Regions from separate parts of the Homo sapiens genome. Here region 1 is linked to region 2. Evidence: promoter capture Hi-C in human tissues and cell types (Jung and others, 2019). All regions are on one chromosome and are shown on one strand. Each heading gives the region's core, a stretch centred on a gene start or on the middle of the fragment in contact. The rest is flanking DNA. Distances are from core to core; before and after follow the strand shown.

The links. The method cuts DNA at HindIII sites, captures the fragments that hold promoters and counts their contacts. A contact is called where the count stands out against the background at its distance.
Region 1: a fragment that was not itself captured here is called in contact with the fragment with the promoter of TPM2 in region 2 in 6 of the 25 tissues and cell types used here (IMR-90 fibroblasts, adrenal gland, aorta and 3 more).

The regions. Positions count from the first base shown.
Region 1 is chr9:35,724,263-35,730,758 of GRCh38, forward strand. TLN1 (talin 1) reads right to left here. Exons shown (of 57, transcript NM_006289.4): 2 at 1,303-1,465; 3 at 962-1,059; 4 at 568-697; 5 at 310-462; 6 at 1-72. The coding sequence starts at 1,432. Among named protein-coding and RNA genes, the nearest start is that of TLN1, 4.7 kb to the right of the region's middle. RefSeq lists enhancers at 2,219-2,931, 2,932-3,645, 6,041-6,100 and a silencer at 2,650-2,944. The HindIII fragment of the contact is 3,260 bases long and covers 2,990-6,249 here.
Region 2 is chr9:35,685,180-35,691,436 of GRCh38, forward strand. It overlaps TPM2 (tropomyosin 2), which reads right to left and starts at 4,746. Exons shown (of 9, transcript NM_003289.4): 1 at 4,525-4,746; 2 at 3,967-4,092; 3 at 468-601; 4 at 255-372; 5 at 90-160. The coding sequence starts at 4,638. RefSeq lists an enhancer at 2,711-3,188 and a silencer at 6,084-6,163. The HindIII fragment of the contact is 5,966 bases long and covers 2,344-6,257 here.

The DNA.
Region 1 (6,496 bases), core at 3,370-5,869, 39 kb after region 2:
TCCGCAGCAGCAGCGTCTCGTGCTCCTCTACACCCTGCTCCCTCAGTGTCCGACCATGGTCCAGCCAGTTCACTGGGATACAGACAGTCCCCTCAGTGCCAAACCCCCATGGCCCCTGTGCTGTCTGGTCTCTGTTTATTTCTGCATTTCCTACCTCCCCTCACTTAAATGTAAGTCCCATGAGTGTAGGACTTTGTTTTCTCACTGATGTATCCCCAGGGTGTAAAACAGTGCCTGGCAGAAGCAGATGCTGAAGCCCCTTCCCACCCTTCCCATTTCAAAAGCCCTCTTTTTTCTAGTTCTGCTTACACTCATCATCTGTGTGCAATTTCTGCTTTAGTTTCTCCATCTTCTTTTCATCTCGCAGCAATGTCTTGTCCTTTCTTAAGGTCCCTGTTATTTCCTCCTTTTTCTCTTCCATCAGCTCTCGAACCAATGAATATTCATCATGATTGGTGATGCCTGAGGAAGGAGATGGCTTGTTAGCTTCCCAGGTACTGCATCCATGCCTTTTGAGAGAGTTGAGGCTTTCTGGCCCAGGCTTTCAACTGTACTAGGGCCCCTTACCAATGCGGGCACAGATGGTCATGAGCATGTCAGTGACAGTCTTAGAGTCATCCACCATGATCGTCTTCACAGTTCCATCCAGCATACGGATCTTCAGGGGTCTCTGTTTCTTCCTGTACTCCATAGTGTCCTGTTAGGGCAGGAAGAAGAGACAGGGGCCTACTCTGAGCTAGGGGTATTATTTCCTCTTTACACAGCCCGAGGGGAGAGAGTGGAGCACTGAAAGGAAGACTATGGTGGTTCGTTCAAAAGCAGGGAATTATGACTGTCTGTTAATAGGAAGAAAGCATGGGGAGGGCTAAGAGACAACAGATGTGGGTGCTGAAAACAGGAGGTGGAACAGGGAGAAGCTGATGGAAGGGGATGTGGTGGTCCTTGATGAAAGGATACTTACCCCATTTCGGAGCATGTAGTAGTCCAAAGCTTTCCCAGCCTCCAGCCATATACCCTTTTTGGGGTCATCATCTGACAGAAAGAGCCCAAAGTCGCTGGCTAAAAGAGAGGATGGATCACTTTAGGCTTATGAAGACCCCAATGTGGCTGAACAGCTTGTACCATGTTGCCCCTGACTATTTCTCCCATGACCTTGGGCCTAAAGAACGAGGGAACCATGGAACACAGACCTGAGGGGTGAGTAGTCTTAGGGGACAAAGGGGTCAACTCTCAAGGCCGAGAGCCTGGGAACAAGAAGGGACTGAAGACTCCCACTCCAGCCACCGGGGGAGTCAGACTCACGAGGACCAGCTGGGGCCTCTGGGATCCGCTCACGAATGATGCGGCAGGCGTCGTACACCATGGTAGACGGCTCAAACTGCATCGTCTTCACCACATTCCCAATGCTGATCTTCAGTGAAAGTGCAACCATGGTGGCAGCTTCTTTTCTCCAGCCTGGCTATACCTGACCCATGGCATCAGGGCATTAGAATACACTCTTCTGGTGGGAGAAGAGGCCCCCCAGATGGTGGAGTCCAAGGGAAGAGTGTTTTTGAAAGGGACTCACCAAAGTAGATGGTAATAAGGTTGTTTTCATTGTATTTAATAATTTTAAAGAGTGAAAAATTATTTACATCAAAAGAATGAGTCCTGACAATTTTTTTTTTTGAGACAGAGTTTCGTTCTGTTGCCCAGGCTAGAGTACAGTGGTGCGATCTCAGCTCGCTGCAAGCTCCGCCTCCTGGATTCACGCCATTCTCCTGTCTCAGCCTCCCCAGTAGCTGGGACTACAGGCGCCCGCTGCCATGCCTGGCTAATTTTTTGTATTTTTAGTAGAGACGGGGTTTCACCATGTTAGCCAGGATGGTCTCGATCTCCTGACCTCGTGATCCACCTTGGCCTCCCCAAGTGCTGGGATTACAGGCGTGAGCCACCACGCCCGGCCAAGTCCTAACAATTTAAGACATCTGAGGGAAAGGAGAAGCTGGTCTGCAAGGTACAATAGCAGGTCTGAAATGCAGTGCTACCTGAGGACACTGCCCTGCCCCACCACTGGAATTTGTACCTCCCTACTTTCATCCAAGTATCTCTCTTGCCCCTTGTCCCTGATCACCTTTCTCAGCCCTACTCCTGCCTTCTTTTCATTTTTGCCTGGTTCAGTATTTTTCTCTCTTTGTCTCCTGCTGTGTCCTGCTGGCTCTTCCCTGTCCGGGATTTTCAGAGCTCTCTTCTCACCACGTGACCTTCCTTCTCATGGCTTTAGCTGCCTTCTCTGCAAAATGAAGATGTTATAATTCCCTAAGGCTCTTGAAGCCTGCAAACAAACTCTAGCTAGCCTGGCAGGGAGACCAAATACTGGTTGCTCAAGCCATTCAGGGGTCCGCTCTTGCCCCAGCTTTTTTCTAACCTGAGATGCGGGGGCCTTCTGAAGGAGCCTAGCCCTGTACTGGGCTTCCCAGGCAGTCAAGCTAGAAATGTGATTCTCTAACTCAAAGGGATCTATCTCAGAAGTTATCTGGTCAACTCTTGTGTTTTGGAGAAGGGGAAATAGACTCTGGGAGGCCAGGAAACATTTTCAAGACAGGCCAGAGAAAGGACCCAGTCCCTGTAACTCAGTCCTTGCTTGTTCCAAGTCATCAAGTTAATACTCAGTCCTGCAACTCCTCCCATGCTTTCTCCTCTTCAGCAAGTCTGTCTCGAATTCTGCTCTGTCTCACCCACTTCCCCTGACTGTATTTTCAGTGCAGCTCAGAATACTAGTCCTACCCCACCTTCTTCCACCCTCCTGGCACCCCCTCTCAGCAGGCTAGAGGAGGCACTGGAGGCAGCAGGTGGCGCACAGGCTGCAAGAGGACAAGTCTGCCCGGCTGCTGCTGATGTGCCCCTGCTTGGTACAGGGATTGGGTGCCTCTTAACTAAGAGAATGGGCAAATACAAGCTGCCCATTCCCCTCCTGGCAAACTACAAGCCTCAAATGGGGAAAAGCAGGGTGAGAGGGGAAGGCTGGAAAGCAGAGATGGGGGTGTTAGGATACAGAAGGCATTTGAAAGCCAGGGAAGTTAAGAAGGGGTAGAGGGTAAAGAAGTTAGGAGAGATGGGATGAGGAGAATTGAAAATCTAAGTAGAAACAAGAGACAGGAGGCAGGTATGAAAATGGTCTAGATCAGCGGTCTGGTACCAAGTGGCAGATAGACCATTTCTGACCTTACAAGCAGTCCAGAGTCTCAAAAGAGAAGAACCACAGCTCTCTGTCTTTACTCCCCAATAAGAGAGGACCCTCCCAGTCTCCCCAGTTCCAGCTCTCTGCCCCCTCCCCACTCCTGGGGCACTTTGCCCAACCTTATTACTATCCGCTTGTGTCCCAGCTGGACAGACCTGGCTATGGGGTTGCTGACCATGAAAGAATGAGGGCTGGGCTGGTGGATCCGAGAAGCTGGAGGAGTCTGTGGAGCCAAGAAGCAGGACTGAAAGGACCCTTCACACTAAGCTGAAACTGCATGTCTCCCCCCATTTCCTCTGGACACTTAGACACCCCCTTCCTCCTCAAGCACGGAAGCCTCTGGTGAGACCCCGATAAGGGAGCTGAGTCATGCCTACCCTTACTCCCCAGCTGGTCCAGAGTGGATATTCACACAGCTACAAGAGGGTGTGTGGACGCGAAGAACTGATCAGTGAATTGTGGGTGGTGGTGGCAAAGAACAAGGCTGCTACAAGTATGAGTAGAAGCTAGCTCATTCCTCCTTTGGCCTGAGAACTTTGCTCCCTTTTCCATTGTGTTTGATGGAACAGCAACTCCCCACTGCCGTGTCCCCCTCCCAGGGAACTCCTCCTCCCTCAATACATTCCTGCGATGCATTCCAAAGAAGTTGGGCAATTGGAGGGGGGGAATGGAGGACAGGAGGTCAAATCCCAGCAAGGAATGGAATGTAAGAGTATTGGAGCTAAGAAAGTTGGGGTACTTGGAGAATATAGTCAGAGCAGATACCCACAAGGGGAATTGCAGAAAGATAGGGAGTTACAGACAGGAACAAAAGGAAAGAGCTTAAGACAGTCAGAATATAAGAGGGATGGGGGAGTAACACTCAGTCTGTTACCAAATTTGGCCTCTGAGTCCGCAACCGCTGGCAGTGGGGGAGGGCTGTGGGTGAGACTGACATATCCGGCCTCAGGCTGCTGGAGACTCATTTAGAGCTGGACTGGGCAGCTAGCTGAAGGGCTGCACAGAACTTCCCCCGGTACAGCCCCTCCATACTCAAATGCACACTCATTCTCCCCAGATGCACCCCAGCCTAGGCAGAGCTCTTTCCCACAAAGCTACCTTACTCTCTCTATACACACATTATCTCAATCACACAGCCCCCACACAGATCCCATCACGACTGCATTATCTTCTCCTAGGGAGCCCATCCTATGCACACAGCTTTTGCACAGATAACCTCCATAACAAGCACACCCGGCACCCAGTGTCTCTCCTCCCATTATGTAGACATTCTCCATTCACCCAGCAAGCATTCCTTGAGGGCCAGCTGTGGGGAAGACCCTGGGCCAAACTTTCAGTGGCTGGGGACCAAGATCAGTAAGACCTAGCCTTTGAGTTCAAAGGGCTCCCAGTCCACGAGATGAGTGAATAAGCCAAGTACAGAATCACAACGGAGGGCAGGATGTGGTAAGAGCCAAAAGGTGTGTGCTCAGAGAGATCCCTTTAGGTCAGGGAAGGGGAACCAAAAAGTCTCCATGATAAGTATCATTTGAAGCTAGAATTTTAAAAAATAGAGATAATAAAAAACAATAGTGATCTGCCATTTATTGACTATGTCACTTGCATTGTATACATAATTTCATTTAATCCTTACAGTAGGTGTCATTATTTCCATTTTTACAGATCAGAAAACAGACTCAAAGATGTTAAATACTTGTTCAAATACTTCTCCAAATAATAAGTTGTGAAGCCAGGATCCGAACCCAGGTTTCTGACTGCAAAGCCCAAGCTTTCTCCACTACGCCAGCCAGCTGGAGATGTGTCAGGGGTAGTTTTCACTCCAGGCAGAGAAATAGCATAAGCAAAGATGGAGAAGCAGTAAATCGTGGAGGAGCATTCAGGGAAGTGAGCAGGCAGGCTGTTGAAGCACAGGGGTACCTGCAAGGGAGCAGTGGTGGGGAAGTCAGGGTTAGGATGGAAAGGCAGAGGAAGACTGGAGAGGGGTATGAGGAATTTTACTTATTGGAGGACAAAAGGAAGCCAAGGGAGTCTTTGAGCAGAGAAGAGACATAACCGGAACTGGATTTTAGAAAAATAACTCTGGCAGTTACCTTGGAGATTAGTTAGAAGGACACTGTATTAGTACAAATTAAAGGTAATGAAGCCGGAGTTGGAATGGCATTGAGGAAGATGTCACTCAGAACAAGTTTGGGGAGGTAGAAATGACAGGACCTAATAACTACTAAGGTAGACAGGTTAGAGTCCCACAGCTTCCTATCATCAGCAGCCACTTTAGCGGCTGGGGCAGCTTGAGTTTAGGCGACGAATTGGGAAGAGGGGAAAGGATCAGGTTGGGCAGAGAATGTGAGGATGAGGCTGTGGTTACGGGATGTGGTTAGGCTGTGGGGAAAAAGGGTATGAGTATATGATTAGTAGCCACTAGGGGCAGATGGGGTTGGGTTAGTGACTGCATCAGGCTGGGAATGGGGAAGACAGGGTGTAGAAAAAGGATGAGAAGACAGGGTGTAGAAAAAGAATGCTGGTGATGATGGTGTTTGGAAAAATACATATACATAAGATACATATATGACCAGTCACTGCATCAGGTTGGGGGAAGGGGAATGATTACATGGATGGTGGCTAAGTCAGGGAATGATGGGGTGAGGTCAGAGGCCAGGTCAGGCTATAGGAGGTTGAGAAGAGCTGGGCCTGTGGTCAGTCACTAAATCAGACTGGGGTGGGGGTGGGAAAGTGAAGGGACATTGGCAATGTCTAAGTAAAGCTGGAGCTGGGATGGGGGATGGGGTACAGCCAGTGGCTGGGTCAGGCTGAGTAGAGGATAGTGCTGTGGTCAGTGGCAGGGTCAGGCTGGGAGTGAAGTGGGGGTGTGGTCAGTGGCCTGGCTGGGCGTGGGATCAGCAAGACCCAGTTTCCTCTTTGGGTCTCGTTTCCTCTTTTCTGTTGGGGAGTGGGGGAAGGGGATCTACAAATGGTCCAAGAAATTAAAAGAGGCTTAGATCCAGGGGGTGACACACAGCAGGGGATGGGAGTAGGGTATTCAGCAGATGACCAGGTGGAATGTAGGTACATGACTGGGTGAAAATGGTAGGAGAGTAATTTAAAATGATGGGAAAGCTCAGGTTTTGATGAGGGTAAATTCAGGTAGGATGTGCGGATTAAAGGTTGGTGAGGGAGGTAGAACTAAGGATGGGAACGGATGATAAGATGAGCATGGGAGAGTTAAAGGCAAGGGAAGTATTTTGTAAGGGGATAGGCAGGATGGGTGTGAAATGCAGA
Region 2 (6,257 bases), core at 3,496-5,995:
CTACAGCCCCAAGCCTAGGATGCTACCTTCCCACTGTGTGGAAGGCCCCAGGGCCAATGGGCTCACTTGTCACCCCCGGGTATCTTTACCTCTCGGCCACCTCAGCCCTCTCCTCCGAGCGCTCCAGCTCTCCTTCCAGGATCACCAGCTTCCTGGCCACCTGTGGGGAGTGAGAAAGAGAGGGTAGATCAGTGGAGAAGGACTGGGCATGTTGCAGGCTGGGCAGCGAGCAGGCAGAGGGGCAAGGCTGTCACCTCTTCATATTTGCGGTCTGAATCCTCAGCGATGTGCTTGGCCTCCTTCAGCTGCATCTCCTGCAGTTCCATCTTCTCCTCATCCTTCATGGCCCGGTTTTCGATGACCTTCATTCCTCTGAAAGGCAGGGAGAGGGTGAGCGTAGGGTCAGGACCAGCAGAGACAGGCTCCCTTCTCCCTCCCGGACCATCCTCCCCGAGGCCCCTGACCACCTCTCGCTCTCATCAGCCGCCTTCTCGGCCTCCTCCAGCTTCTGCAGGGCTGTAGCCAGGCGCTCCTGGGCCCGGTCCAGCTCCTCCTCAACCAGCTGAATGCGGCGGTTCAGGGAGGCCACATCTGCCTCAGCCTGTGGGTCAGAGGTCAGGGGTCAAAAAGGCCTTGTTAGCCTTGGATAAGGATCAGAGAGGCTCCAGAGGATGGCGAGATTCTTCTCAGAAAGAACTGAGGCTTCCTGGTTTCTAGACATTCTATGTGATTTTTCCCCAACCAATCATCTTCTGCCCAGACTGTGCTCCAGTAAAAAATGTGCATTCAGGCCGGGCATGGTGGCTCACGCCTGTAATCCCCGCACTCTGGGAGGCCGAGGCGGGTGGATCACCTGAGGTGAGGAGTTTGAGAGCAGCCTGGCCAACATGGTGAAACTCTGTCTCTATTAAAAATAAAAAATTAGCCAGGCATGGTGGCGCATGCCTGTAATCCCAGCTACTTGGGAGGCTGAGGCACAAGAATCACTTGAACCCAGGAGGCGGAGGTTGCAGTGAGCTGAGGTCGTGCCACTGCACTCCAGCCTGGGTAAAAAGAACGAAACTCCATCTCAAAAAAACAAAAAAATACATGCATTCCTTGCTTGACAAGCTCCGCTCCCCTGCTGCAGGGCCTCTCCTGCACTGTGCACAGTTAGTCTCCCAAAGGTCACCTGCACACAAGTCCTCCTGTTCCCTGTGGGAGCACTTCAAGTGCTGGGGCCAGGTCTGATGCAGCTCTGATTCCTACACAGCAAAGCCTGGCCCAGGTAAGGGGATGGGAGGAGAATCAGGCCAACCAGACATCACTGCTGCTAAGAATAGCCCGTCACAGAATCAAGCTCAGTGATACTGGGCATGGTGGTGCATGCCTGTCATCCCAGCTACTCCGAAGGCTAAGGCGGGAGTTCAGCTTGACCCCAGGAGCCCTGCCTGGGAAACATAGCAAGATCCCATCTCAAAAAAAAAAAAAAAAAAAAGTATCAAGTTCAGTGATGTCATCTGTCATCAGCTGTAAGGCAGACTCCCAGCAAGAAGCCCAAGAGGCAGGCCTATAAGGAATACCCATGGCTGTAGCAAGGGGCTCCCTGCCAAGGCCAGCAGAGAGCTGGGGGCAATGCAGGGGCAGTGTGAGGGATGTCTACTCAGCCCCTGGGCTTGCAGTAGGAGGCAAAACCATGGAGGTTTTGGAAAAAATCCATAAAAACTGGTCAAACACTGAGAAAAAGGGCAGAGCAAGGCGAGCGCCAGTAAAGGAAAATGAGAGGAGCAGGGCAGCCACGTGTTAAGAGCATCGGCTCTGAGTCAGATTGTCTTTGAGCCACGGCTCAGCCACTCAACACCTGTGTAACTGTGGGCAACTTATTTAGCCTCTCTAAGCTTCAGTTTCCTCCTTCACAAGTTGGAGTTAACAATAACAGTTCCTCCTTCTTAAGGCTGTTCTGAGATAATCCACTGCTTTTAATACTCAGTTAATCAACAGGACCTTCGGTGAGACTCATAAAACTAAACAGGTTCTCTTACTCCATGCTAGATCCACTGAATTGGGATGTGTAGGGCGGGGGCTTGGGAATCTTCTCTTTTTTTTTTAAAGCCCCCGAGTGATTCTGATGATAAGCCAAGTTTGGGAAATTGTAAAATAACATGCAGAAAGCACTGAGTACATTGCCTGCACAGGGTCCACATTCCATAAATATTAGGTTATCCCCTTTCTCTGTCAAAAACAAGGACACAGAGACCCTGAGATTTCAGAGTGGAAAGGAGAGAGGACCTGTGTAGGGAAAGGAGGTGGGGGGAGGGGCTGGGGGCAGCACTTGGACACAGCATAGGAAGCAGGTCCTTGGTCGGACTGTAGGGCAGGAGAAACAGCACCATATATAGAGAGTAGATGGTAGCTTGTCTTCCAGGTGCTGAAGGCACCTGGAGCTTGGCCACCTAGAGTGACAAGAGCCCATCATGGGCACAGGGCCGGATGACAGTGTGGAAGCATTCTGGGGACAGCATTGGGGGTTGGGAAGAATCACTGTGGGGGACATTGGAGTACTACCCTAGAGAGAGGTGAGACTGTAAAAGAAAAACTCTGCATGATGGTGGGGTGACAAAAGACTCTGGAAAGTTTGGGAAGTCCTGGGGTCCTCATCATGGGACTGATATGTGCCATTTCCTGCCTCTCAAGCTCTTCCCAGTTACGGGGGCGGCTCTCTAACCACAGGACAGGCACTACTGTCCCCATTAGAAAAATGGGAAGCAAGAGAGAGGGAGAAACTGAGGCACCATGTAAGTTGAGTGCTGTGTTCAAGGTCACCAGGAAGCTTGGGCAGTCTTTCCTATCTGCTCCTGGTGCTGCGGCTCTGCCTCCCCAGCTCTGTCCCTGTCCCCCCTGCCCCTCCAGCCCCCACCAGCAACTTGGGTTTCCAATCTTGCCTCCAGCTGCACTGGGCCTTGGTTATTTATAGAGTGTCAGATGCCCAGGGTTGTCTGTGCTAGCAGCTGCAGGTCAGCTCCCTCCCAAGTGCCAGGACTGGTGGAGAACCAAAACTGGAGGCTGGAGGTCACAGAAGCCCAACCCCTGGGGGGCTGGGAACATGAGCAGTCGACACAAACAGCTATGTCATCTCTGATGTTCAGACCATGCTTTATGCTAATCTAACCATAGGTTCATCTTAAAACAATCCTGGGTGGAAGGAAGATGGGGAAACTGAGGCAGAGAATGGGGAAACTACCACCACACCAAAGCCATATGGCCATTCTCCTACCTTAAGCTGGGGGTTGGGAATGGCAGGAAGTGAAGTCTGGTTGGGGTTGTGGGGTGGGCAGAGAAATCTCAGGGTAAATGACCTGCCAAGGTAGCTGCTTTGGCATTTGTGGCCCTGTCCCTCTGCCCTGTGGCCTGGCATGGTCTCCAGGCTGACAGCTTAATGAGGGTAAATGAGGAGCCATTAGAACCTGAGCTGGGGCCCCAGGGCACAGCAGGGCTGCTGAAGCCAGAGGTCAAGGCCAGGGAATTTCTAATGGCCCCTTAGGGTTGTAACTCAAGTGGGGTCTCATCTCTGGATCCCTCTCCCTCCTCCTGCAGGCTAGTACCTCACATCCACATCCCCCCATCCCCAAACGGCTGCAGTCTCCTCTCCAATTTCAGCTGGAGGATTAATTGAGGTAGATGGTAAATTCTTATACCTTCCACCCCCACAATGACTCATTGCTTGATCACTGTACATTCTAAAAGCTGGAACCAAACAGAATTACAGGGCTAAGTCCTCTGGGGGAAGTGGTAGGTGGTTTTGATTTATCCACTGTCTTGGATTACTTGTGTAAGTTTACCCTAGCCCTGGTTACTGAGATGAAACCATTTCTCTCCTGGCGCTGGGGACATAAGGGGATAAGGTGCCCCAATCCTCTTATTCCCATACCCGGGGGGCCCCTTCCCAGAGCCCTAACTCCTCCCATTGTCCCCCAAGTCCACACTCACATCAGTGGCCTTCTTCTCGGCCTGCTCCAGTTTCTCCTGGGCCTCCTTCACGGATTCAGAATACTTTTCCACCTCATCCTCTGTCCCCTTCAGCTTCTTCTGGAGGGCCTGCTGCTCCTCCTCCAGCTGGGACAGAGGGGACTTGGTCAGCCAGGCTGGGAGGGGGCCCAGGCCCAGAATGGAGACGCGGTGTGTGTAGGGGCGCTACTAAGATTTGGAGGCTACTGGGATGGAAGCGGAATAACATAAAAGGGACAGTACAGTCAAGGGTACTGGTGGGACCCGTTGAGGGTACAGAGAAAACTTCAGGCCCCAAGGAGCAGGACCAACCGCGCTCTGCAAAGGCAGAGTGGAAACCAGGGGCCTGGGGCTTCCCCAGGCTATTGTAGGGGAGAGAAGCGGCTCTGGCGAAGGCCCTGAGGGTACTGCGAAGGCCCAGCCCCCACCCTGGGTGAGAGAGAGCCTTGGCGGGCAGGCCCGGGGCTGGGGGACCCATGGCAGCGGCCCACCCTTGCCCTAGGCGCGGGGAGAGCAGGCTGCACTGGGCCCGGCCCTAACCTGCTTGCAGCGGTCCTCAGCTTGCTTCTTGTCGGCTTCGGCCTGCTCGGCGCGGTCGATGGCGTTCTCCTTGTCCAGCTTCAGCATCTGCATCTTCTTCTTGATGGCGTCCATGGCTGCGGTGGGGGGTGGGCCGGCCGGCAGGCGGTGAGGACCGGACGGACTGGGCTGGGTGAGCGGACTGGGTGCACCGGTGGCAGGCGAGGAGGACGGAGCGGGACTGGGACGTCCCGGCCACGCGGGCGCCTAAAAGGCGGGGAGGGACCGGGCGGGGCCGGCAACCAGGACCCTCCCCCACCTCGGCCCAAACCTTGTAGGGGCAGAAGCACGGCCCGGCCGGGGGGTGCGGCCGCCCCCTTCGCCCACCCACTGGGGACCGCCTCCCTTGGGGTCCCGCCCCCATCCCCCTCTTCCCTGCCAGCCGTCGGAGGAAAAAGTGGCCGACGGTCGGCTGGAAAAACCCCGGCGATGCGAAGGGGAGGGGACCCTTGGGCTGGGGGCTCCGTGCTTCCTCTGAGTGACAGCCGGACCCAGTGGCAGCTGCGGCTGGGGCCCCTGGGGCTATTTCGGGGCGTGAGCTCACGGCAGCTGCCCGGGCGCAGGGACCGGCGTGCCCCCCCTCAGCTGCAGCAGCCGCTACCCTTAATTTAGAAGTTTCCTGCAAATCCCCCCGGATTAAATGTCTCTCGGGAGGCGGAGCTCCTCGGCAGTTTGAGTGCCTCAGTTTACCCTGAGTCCCTCTAGGTTTGCGTTATCGACGTGGTGGTAGTAGCGGAGTCTCATCGGGAGCTTGGGGAAACTGAAGCAGGAAGCGAGCCCAGAGCCCCGGTCGCGGTGGGGAGTGTGGCCGGGCTTGCTGCCCCCAGGACCGGCCTGACCTCTCATCCCCTCGCCTCCCCTCCCAGCCCCTGCCCCTGGAGCCAGGCCCTTCCTGCGAGCACCCGGCGGCTCAGGACCCAGCTCCCCGCCCCGCCCCCCACGTGCCCCGCATATTTTCCACGCGGCTGCGGCCAGGCTGGTCACCGCGCGTTCCCCGCCCCCGCTCCCACCCGGACGCGTCCCGAGCCCCTCCGCTCCCCGCCCCTGGCTCCGCCTGGCCCCACTCCCCTCCGCGCGCCTTCCCTCTTCTCCCCCGCTCCCCGCGGACGCTCCTCTCTTTCCCAGTGGGCCAACTTTATGCTGAAATTTCTTTTCTGCCCTTTTTTGGGATGTTTCCCCATTGGGAGGCGGAGCCGGGCTGCGGCGGGGAAGGCGGAGGGCGAGGGGAAGAGTCACTGAGCTGCGGGGCATAGGGGGTCCGGGGCGAGGTGCCTTCTCCCACCCAGGCCGCCAAACCAGCGCCGGAGCCGGGTCGTGGGGTCTGGGAGTCGGAGGCGCGAGGCGCGAGGGTGTTTGTTTTCGTTTTTCCCTGGGGTGGGGTGGGGGGAAAGGAAGTGGAGAGCCGCCGGGAGGAGGGGGAAGGGGAGGAGAGAACAAGCGGAGGAAGCCGGGAGGGAGCTGCTAGCCTCGCCCCCACCCTCCAGTCATAGAGGGGCGGGAGGCCTGGATTTTGCAGTGGGCTGGGGACCGTGGGAACCCGAGGCCGCTGGCCGGGGCGGTGGGGAGGTGGCGTGGAAATGCATTCAGATCTGTTTAGCTGCCTGCTAGCCACACGGAGAGCAACCCTGGCCTGACCTCGCAGTGTTCCTCTAACTCCGTGGAAGACGCCTCATCCACCAGTAGCCTATGCTAGA